Linked DNA regions of Homo sapiens: region 2 is linked to region 1. Evidence: promoter capture Hi-C in human tissues and cell types (Jung and others, 2019). All regions are on one chromosome and are shown on one strand. Each heading gives the region's core, a stretch centred on a gene start or on the middle of the fragment in contact. The rest is flanking DNA. Distances are from core to core; before and after follow the strand shown. Region 1 holds the start of UBL4B (ubiquitin like 4B). Region 2 overlaps SLC16A4 (solute carrier family 16 member 4).

What was found. Contacts are between HindIII fragments. The study calls those that stand out against the background at their distance.
Region 2: a contact is called between a fragment that was not itself captured here and the fragment with the promoter of UBL4B in region 1, in 2 of the 25 tissues and cell types used here (heart right ventricle and thymus).

What each region holds. Positions count from the first base shown.
Region 1 is chr1:110,110,009-110,114,885 of GRCh38, reverse strand. It overlaps UBL4B (ubiquitin like 4B), which reads right to left and starts at 2,443. Exons shown (of 1, transcript NM_203412.2): 1 at 939-2,443. The coding sequence starts at 2,351. The coding sequence ends at 1,827. The HindIII fragment of the contact is 14,264 bases long and covers 1-4,877 here.
Region 2 is chr1:110,364,457-110,369,448 of GRCh38, reverse strand. All of the region lies in intron 8 of SLC16A4 (solute carrier family 16 member 4), which reads left to right. Among named protein-coding and RNA genes, the nearest start is that of SLC16A4, 24 kb to the left of the region's middle. The HindIII fragment of the contact is 7,024 bases long and covers 1-4,992 here.

The DNA of each region.
Region 1 (4,877 bases), core at 1,194-3,693:
AGTTCCCCTAATGTAAAGATAATAGGCTCATCTCCCTTGGCAAATGGTACAGCCCCAGCATGAAAACACTCACAGAACTGTCAAGAGGGCTCCCCTGCTGAGGATGCAGGGCCCAGGAGCAGGACCAGGACAGGAACCAAGGAGCAGGCTTGAGCCCCCTAAACCCCAGCCTGGGAGTGCTGGCTGCAGCCAGTGCGTGCTGGGTCCTTGGTACCCCAGGGAGAGGTCATTAGTCTCCTCAGAGCCCCTAGTTTGCTCTCTTGGCTGGGACAGTGGGTGGGGCACTGGGAAAGGAGCTGGGTCATAAGCTGAACGAGGTTGTCTTATTCTGCGAGGTGAGGGAATGACCACTGCTAAGCAGGCTCCCACAAACAGAATGCTTTCCACATCCATCCTTGTCACTGCCGCTGAGCCCACCACTAGAAGACATCCCTCCCAGTTGGACAGTCTTTGCCTCTAACCGTCACCAACACTCATGGGGTAAGTAGATGCTGTTATAAGGATGCCCATGCAACAGGTGGGAAACCTGAGCATCAGACAGGAAAAGCAGGTTACCCATGGCCACACAGCTGGACTCGGACTGGAAGAGAGGATGAGGGGCCCTGCAGGCCAAGGACAGGATGCTTCCTAGGGAAGGGGGCCCTGCTTGTTCAAGACATTCTCCTCCACCCCTTCCCTCCATCCCCATCACTCAGGACTGAAACTTTTGCAATAACAGCATTTCAGGGGCTTCAGCAGTGAATGGGGGACCACAGCTCCCCACTCCCTCCCACTCACACACAGAGTGTGGGGACTCCTCAGCCTCTGCAAGGGCCACTCTCTCACTCAAAGAACAGAGTAAAGGGCCTGGCTTTCCTCGTAGTCTGCAGGGGACTGGCCCCTCTATGCTGAACCCAGGGCCCCGTGAGGCCCCGTGCATTCAGTCACACACACTAGACTCTAGTTTCATGTCACCACTTTACTTTTCACATGTATAGCAGCTCTCTGCATCTAGGCTGCGTGCTCTGTGAGGGCAAGGATCCTCATTGACAGATACCATTTTTCCTTCCAGGGAGCCTTGGGCAGCGCTGGGCAGGTAATGTGAGCTGTGATACCTACTGACTGATCAGTCTGGGAGGGTGGGGCATGGCTCTGTTCACGCTGGCCACAGGGAGTGTATGACTTTGCTGAACTTTTTTTCTGCCTGAGGCTCAGTTTCCTGCTATTCTTGGTCTGTGTCTGTCTCCCTGAGGGCTCCAGGGCTGGCACCCGGTACGTGCCCTCCTCCCACTCTCACCTCTGCTGTGCCTGTCCCTTAAGCTGGAAGCACAAGCAGGAGAACAGCAGGGGCAGCCTCACCCAGAAGGCAAGGGGCAGCTACCTGACATTCCTCTCCTCTTGGCTGCTGGGGAGCCTAGGGGAGATGTCACGGTCTGAGGATGGAGGAAAATGAACTCACATTGTCTTTCTGTCCCGAAGGAGAAAGAGGGTCTGCCTAGAACCATGGAGACCCTGGGCCAGGGCTGCTTTCAGCCTGGGGAGCTGCTGGGTATGTGTGGGCAAAGCTGCCAGCACAGGAGGGGACTGTGGCCTTTGGGGCTGCCCTCCGGTGATCAGAACCCTTCTAGGGGAAGCATGGTGATGAGGGTTGGTTCACTCTGCATTTCAGAGGGAGGACCTCAGGCCCAAGAGGGGACAGGGATCCAAAAACCCTCCAGCTGCTTGGAAGGTTCAAAAAGGGGTGTGGACGCATCCACATCAGCAGGAAGTAGTAGGAAAAGTCACCAGGGAACACGTAAGGATGAGGCCGGGAGAATTTTAGCATGCAAATGGGTAGGATGGCCCGTTTACTGATCAGCTGCTGCCTCCTCCTTCTCCTCCATGTCACAGGAGCTCTGAGGCCGTGCCTTCGCCTCAAGCTCCCTCTCTCCAGCTGGCTCCACGTGAGGCTCCTCTGCCAGGAGGTACTGGGCCAGCTGCTCCAGGTGCTCCAGGCTTATCTTCTGCAGGCGCTCCTCGTGCTCCTGCCTTAGCAGCTGCAGCACGGCCTTGGCATCCTGTGGTTCAAAGTGTTTAGCTAGGACCAGTCCCAGCTGGTGCCACAGGGGCTGGGTCTGCGGCTGGTGGGCCTCCTTTAGCGCCATCTTCTCCAAGGGCTGCATGATGACATTGATAGAGGCATTGGGCCCAATGCAGTAGTCAGAGAGGTGCTTGTCATCCTCCAGGAGCTGGCCACGGAAAAGCAGGTGCTGCTGCTCCTCAGGCACCTTCAGCCGCCTGGACACCAGTCTCTTCAGCGTGGCTACACTCTCTTGCCCTGACACCTTCAGACTGCATCTCTGGCCCAGGAGCAGCTTGACTGTGAGGAACATCGGGCTGAGTGGAATCAGGAGGGATCCATGCTCTGGGAGCTGCCCTGAAGATTAGGGGGTCCTGCGGGAGATGTTGGCTTCTCCCTATCAACAAAGGGCTAGTAGTCCCAGGAGACCAGGGACCCAGCTTAGGCAGGCAGCCATTGGCTAGTGCACGGTGATGTCACAATGCTGCGGGGGGGCTCATTTCCAGAGTGGAACTTTTGGGACAGCAAAGGGGTATTTGGGCCCAGAGCATCCTTCCTCCACGAGAGGAGAAAAAGAGCACTAGGAAAGAAAATGTGGGACTGGGGGAAATGAGAGTGAGACTAGGGAAAGGGAGGGAGGGAAAGGACAGGGTGGTGGGAGGAGCATGTCTATTGATTTCTTCAACACATGTGTATTAGGTGCCACCTCTGTGCCAGCACCTGGACCTGGGGAGACAGTCATATTCAGATGGATGACTTCTGCCTTCATGACACTTTCACACTAGTGAGCTGGCTAGCATTTATCAAGCGTCCTCTTTCTGTCAAGCACTTTACACGCTCTTTTGGATTGGGCTTTCCAGCAGCAGACACTGAGACAGGGATTTGAGAACAAGTACTCAATTAGGAGGTGATCCCAGGAGGCACCAGGAGGGGAGTGAGGATGTGAGATGAGGACGGGAGGGAAATCAAAACGTGCATTCATGAGCAGGTTGCCATTGTGGGCAACTAGTATGTTATCCTGCTGGGGAGTTCTGGGAGGTTGCATGGAACACACCTGAGTTGCACCAGGTGTGGTTTTTTTGTTTTTTTTTTTGTTTTTTGAGACAGGGTCTCACTCTGTTGCCCAGGCTGGAGTGCAGTGGCATGATCTCGGCTCACTGCAACCTCCGTTTCCTGGGTTCAAGTAATTCTCCTGTGTCAGCCTCCCAAGTAACTGGGGCTACAGCTGCACGCCACCATGCCTGGCTAATTTTTGTATTTTTAGTAGAGATGGGTTTCTCCATGCTGCCCAGGCTGATCTCAAACTCCCAGACACAAGCAATCTGCCTGCTTTGGCCTCCCAAAGTGCTGAGGTTACAGGCGTGAGCCACCGCACCTGGCCGAACCTGCATCTTTATGCTCTGACTCCTGTCTTTGGCTAATAGAAGTGCTACCTCCTTGGCACTTCTGGTCCACAGGTGTTAAGCAGCATGCTCCTGTGACCACAGAAAAGTAGGAAGCCATCGGGCCCTCAGGAATGTGAGTGCTGAGGGGATGGGGCAGGACAGCCCACAGCATCTGCATCACAGGCCTGCCTAATTGAATCCTCTCAACCTATGAGGCAGGCACTGCCATGATCTCCATCTGCCAGAGGAGAAAGTGGAGGCTTGGCTGATCCTACAGCAAGCAGGCAGAATTGCTCTTGTCTTCACTGTTACCTCATGTTGCCTCCTAAACAAATCTCTGCTCAGTGCCTTTTGTGGCCCAGGCCCTGAGCAGGCACCCCCGGCTCAAAGGTGAATATGAAAAAGGACACTGATTGGGCCTCCTCTGTGTCTGCAACTTCTGCAGCATTTGGCAGTTTTCAGTGCAACACATTGCTGAAGGCCTTCTGGGTCAAGCCCTTTATATATGTTGTCACAATTTAGCCTGGGAGGAAAGTATTGTCTCATTTTAGAACTGAGCAACTTTGGAGAAGACCTGAATAACGTCTCGCAGCCAGTGGGCTGATTTTGTCAGGGATCCCCTCAACTCTCACCAGCTCTGTGCTCGACTGTGCCCTTCTTCTCACTCACCTTCTCCCTCCCTCCCACCTAACCTCCTTTCCTTTTCCACCTGCCTGGAAGCTACAGTGGCATGATGCTGTTGTCAACATCCTTGGACTTTCCTGAACTGCCCTTCCACAGCACCCAGCCCTGAACTCCGCCCAAAGGTGGCTGCAAGCTCTGTCCCTGTCTTTGGAAGCTGGCAGCCAAGAGCAGCTGGTGAAGATACCCATGGGGCCGGGCGCGGTGGCTCATGCCTGTAATCCTAGCACTTTGGGAGGCTGAGGCGGGCAGATCGTGAGGTCAGGAGTTCAAGATCAGCCTGACCAACATGGTAAAACCCCGTCTCTACTAAAAATACAAAAATTAGCCGGGCGTGGTGGCGCGCACCTAATATCCCAGCTACTCGGGAGGCTGAGGAAGGAGAATCGCTTGAAACCGGGAGGCAGATGTTGCAGTGAGCCGAGATCACTCCACTGCACTCCAGCCTGGGTGACAGAACGAGACTCTGTCTCAGAAAAAAAAAAAAAGAAGAAGAAGAAAAGAAATATCCATAGATGCCACAGACTCAGCAAGCCCTCACCCCTCACCCCAGCCCCATGTTCACTCTTGCCGGGTGACTCATATTCTAGTCCATAGGGAAACTAGAGCTCACAAGTCAGGAATTCCCTGACCTTCCGTCCCTTCCTCACTTCCTTCCTCCTCTCCTTTCCCCCACTAAATGAGCCCCCTTGTTATTTCCCTTCTTCCCTGAAAATGTCTCCGAAACCCACTCCTCCTCCTCTGCATCCCCACTGCCCACCGGTTCAGGCTGT
Region 2 (4,992 bases), core at 1,856-4,355, 250 kb before region 1:
TTTTCTATTTTTAGTAGAGATGGGATTCACCATTTTGCCCAGGCTGGTCTCGAACTACTGAGCTCAAGCAATCCGCCCACATCGGCCTCCCAAAGTGCTGGGATTACAGGTGTGAGCCACTGCACCCGGCCATGTTAAGTTTCAATAAGATGACCAATAGTAAACTTACATAGTAATCCTAATAAAAATGATTCATGACTGGGCACAGTGGCTCACGCCTGTAATCCCAGCACTTTGGGAGGCTGAGGCAGGTAGATCACGAGGTCAAGAGTTCAAGACCAGCTTGACCAACATAGTGAAACCCCGTCTCTACTAAAAATACAAAAATTAGCTGGGCGTAGTGGTGTGCACCTGTAATCCCAGCTACTTGGGAGGTTGGGGCAGGAGAATCGCTTAAACCCAGGAGGAGGAGGTTGCAGTGAGCCGAGATTGCACCACTGCATTTCAGCCTGGGCGACAGGGCGAGACTCCATCTCAAAAAAAAAAAAAAAAGATTCATAACTTAGCTTAACAATCAAGTTCTGAGATTCTGAGATGTCTGAAGGTATGAATACTTTTTAGACAGGATGCTAAATTCCTTTTGAAACATGTATGGCCTAACACATAAAATAATGTGGAATAGTTTTAAAATATTAACACTTAAAAAATGAGTTCAGAATCCTATATTAAATATCTAACTTGAATGATTATTCTTATTCCTTTTTAACTGACTGTAAAAAAAATGGTTTGCACCAGTATTTAAAGAAGCTCAGCCCAATCTTCCTATTTGTTTTAAATTATCACAGGAAACATTACTAGACATTTCTGCCTAAAACAAGTCCTATAGCCATAGATATAAGAAAAGAGTCTGGACTAGTAACTTCAAATACAATAATTATTATTGTTAAATAATAATTTTACTGTGCGTAAGAATCAACTGAGTGCCACCCAGGATGGAGTTATGCTTGACAGAATCCAGTGAATCTGCATTATTAACATGCATCTCAGGTAAATCTGACGCAGGTAGCCTGTAGACACCAAGGAAATGCTTACAGAGGTCTTCAGCTTAATAATTCTGCATCAGCTGCCAGTTTATTCCTCAGAGTGCTGGCTACATACAGTAATACCAGGCATAGAGTGAACATTCAGATACATGCACATTATCCTAGATTATAACTGGTATGTAATCTTGTCTTTCTCTGACGTTCACAATGCTTATGCTATGACCACAAAGGAATCTAGTCTTTTGAATGTCAACTTATGTGTGTGCTTCCATTTAAAATGGTGAGAATACAGTGGCTTCTGAACTATCAACAATACTTTCTTTTAAAAATATTTACTTGGCTGGGCGCAGTGGCTCACGCCTGTAATCCCAGCACTTTGGGAGGCCGAGGCGGGCAGATCACGAGGTCAGGAGATCGAGACCATCCTGGCTAACATGGTGAAACCCTGTCTCTACTAAAAATACAAAAAATTAGCCGGGCACGGTGGCGGACGCCTATGGTCCCAGCTACTCGGGAGGCTGAGACAGGAGAATGGTGTGAATCCGGGAGGCGGAGCTGGGAGTGAGTGGAGATTGCGCCACTGCACTCCAGCCTGGGCAACAGAGTGAGATTCCTCTCAAAAAAAACAAAAATTTACTTAGAAGCATTAAACCGTTTAGGGTCCGAAGTGCATCTGAACAGATTTTTCATCCTGTTACCAAAAAAATACAGAGATCTAATAAAATCAGACACTCGTTCTCTCTCCCTATATATATATATTTTAAATTTTTGAGACAGGCTCTCCCTCTGTTGCCCAGGCTGGAGGGCAGTGACACAATCACAGCTCACTGTAGCCTCAACCTCCTGGGCTCAAGTGATCCTCCCAACTCAGCCTCCTGAGTAGCTGGGACTACAGGCATGTGCCATGACACCTGGCTTTTTTTTCTTTAACTTTTTCTTTATTCTTTTCCAATATTTTTCTAAATTTAATTTTAATTTTTGATAGAATAGGGACAAAGTCTGACTGTGTTGCCCAGGCTGGTCTTGAACTCCTAAGCTCAAGTCATCCTTCTACCTTGGCCTCCCAAAGTGCTAAGATTATAGGCATGAGCCGTCACGCCTGGCCAACACCCAGCTAATTTATTACTTCTTTTTTGTAGAGATAGGGTCTCACCACATTGCCCAGTCTGGCCTTGAACTCTTGGGCTCAAGTGATCTGCCTGCCTTGGCCTTCCAAAGTGCTAGGATTACAGGCATGAGCCACTGTGCCTGGCCAATCCTTTTACTTTCAGCAGTAGAGAATGGCTAGTTATTCCAATCAAATAAAGTAGATGTTTCAATAGCAACGAAGCTCAAAACTTAACTAACCTAGTAGCCACTTAAATATAAGCTTGATTTTAACAACTAATACTTTCATAAAATAATCAGTCATATGTATATTTCTGCATCCTACATTTTACCTCATATTTGCTAGTATAAACAGCATCCTAAAACTAAATACTCAGCTGTATACTATTATCCTATTGAATGGCAATTGGATCTTAATTTAGAATCTAAAAAATACAAATATCTCAATGATCAAATATGACTGGGAGAAACAAATTTACAACAATTATTTCATCCAGGTTTTATTTCACCTAATTTTGCATGGAAATACATAGAAATAATTCTAAAACATGCTAAACAATTCCCCGCCCTGGTAAGAAAATATATTAAATATAGTCATGAGTTATTTAACAGGGATACATTCTGAGAAATGTGTTAGATGATTTCATTGTCATATGAACAGTATACCTACACACACCTAGGCTATATGGTAGAGCCTATTGCTCCTAGGCTACAAATCTATACAGCATGTTACTGTGCTGAGTACTGTAGGCAACTGTATCTAAACATAGAAAGATACTCGTGTATCCAAACAAAGTATTCATGTATCTAAACATAGATACAGTAAAAATGCATATCATAACCTCATGAGGTTTGTCCTGTTATGTGCCACATGACTATATTTTAATACTTAATGTTTCAGAAACAGCATTCTAAGAGTGAGTGAAATCCAAGCACTTTAGAAGGCTGAGGCAGGCGGATCACCTGAGATCAGGAGTTTGAGACCAACCTGGCCAACATGGCGAAACCCCATCTCTACTAAAAATACAAAAAAATGAGCCGGGTGTGGTGGTAGGCACCTATAATCCCAGCAACTCATGAGGCTGAGGCAAGAGAATCACTTGAACCTGCGGGTCGGAGGTTGCAGTGAGCCGAGATTGCGCAACTCACTCCAGCCTGGGCAACAGAGCGAGGCTCTGTCTCAAAAAACAAAAAAAAAAGTGAGTGAGTGAGAGAGAGAGAAAGAGTGTGTGTGTGTGTGTGTGTGTGTGTGTGTGTAAAATGAAAGGCTTGGTCGGCATGATGGCTCACACCTGTAATCCCAGCACTTTGGGAGGCCAATGCAGGAGGATGACTTGGGGCCAGGAATTTGAGACTAGCGTGGGTAACTTAGATCCAGTCTCTACAAGAAATTTTAAAAAAAGAAAAGAAAAGAAAGAAAAGGCTTATAAACAGTTTTTCTCTTCAATCCATTTTTACTATTTTTAGCTGTGCTATCTGACATTTTAGTAGCACTGTCTACCTTTTTGTCCAAGAATTCCTAGTCTTTCCCCAGGGTGTTACTTCTGAGACCACTATTTTATAATTCACAGGTTTTATATATACACATATACATACACAGACACATACACTCTAATACATTTGCTGTGTTGGCAGGACTAAGGCAAGAATGACAAGGGATGGGAGGGTAAGGACTGCTACCTTCTATACTCCTTCCTTTCTAGAAATGTCTACAAGAGTTCAGAGACTAGTCACCTATTTCTTAGAGATCTATAGGTCAATAACAATCAACATAACACAAAGACTTGTCCAGTTGTTTTCACTCCAGTAACTCCAAGAAACATTTAATAGAGGTCACTAATCAAACAGGAGTCAGTAAGTAAAAAGCAACTTAAAGTTAGTTGAACTTAAGAGGTTATAAAACATTCTATTCACTTATTTTTTACATTAACAATAGGAAACACAGAGCTATAAAACAAAAATAAATTAAGTCAATTTTTTCTGGTCTGCTTGTCTCATCTCCTCTGTGTCCATAACAGAACAAAGAGGAGATGAAACAAGCAGACCAGAAGAAAAAGGTGGGGGAGGGTATACTCTACATATCCAGTGAGGCATCATGATCTAAGATAGAAGGGAAAAATCAAAGACACAATGTAAGCTCCATGAGGGCAGATATTTTCATCTATTTTGTTCAGGGGTATATCCCTGAAACCCAGACCTGTGCTGCCATACAGCACTGAAATTTCTTGAATAAGTGATCAGATATAATATACATACTATACTTTGGAAAAGAACTTCTCAAAGTGAGGTCAACAGACCCCCAGAGATCCTTGAGACCCTTTAGGAAGTCCAGGAGGCCAAAATTATTGTCATGATAATACTAAGGACATTATTTGCTTTTTTCAGTGTTGACTTTTGCAATGATGTGCCTTAGCATAAATATTCTTTGCTATCACCTACTCAGTTAAAAAAAAAAAAGAAAAAAAAGTGTTTCGCTTAAGTTTTAGTATGTGCCATTAGCCAAAAGACTTTGAAGACCCTCCAACTTATGCTTTTAAAAAGCACTTAGGACCAGGTGCAGTGGCTCACGCTTATAATCCCAGCACTTTGGGAGGCCGAGGTAGGCGGATCACTGGAGGTCAGGAGTTCAAGACCACCCTGGCCAACATGGCGAAACTCCGTCTCTACTAAAAACACAAAAATTAGCCGGGTGTGGTGGCGGGCACCTGTAATCCCAGCTACTTGGGAGGCTGAGGCAGGAGAACTGCTTGAACCCAGGAGGTGGAGGTTGCAGTAAGCAAAGCAGAGATCGTGCCACTACACCACTCCAACCTGGGTGACAGAGCAAGCCTCTGTCTCAAAAAAAAAAAAAAAAAAAAAGCATTTAGATTTCAGGGGGGAACTTGTCATTGTTTAACCCACG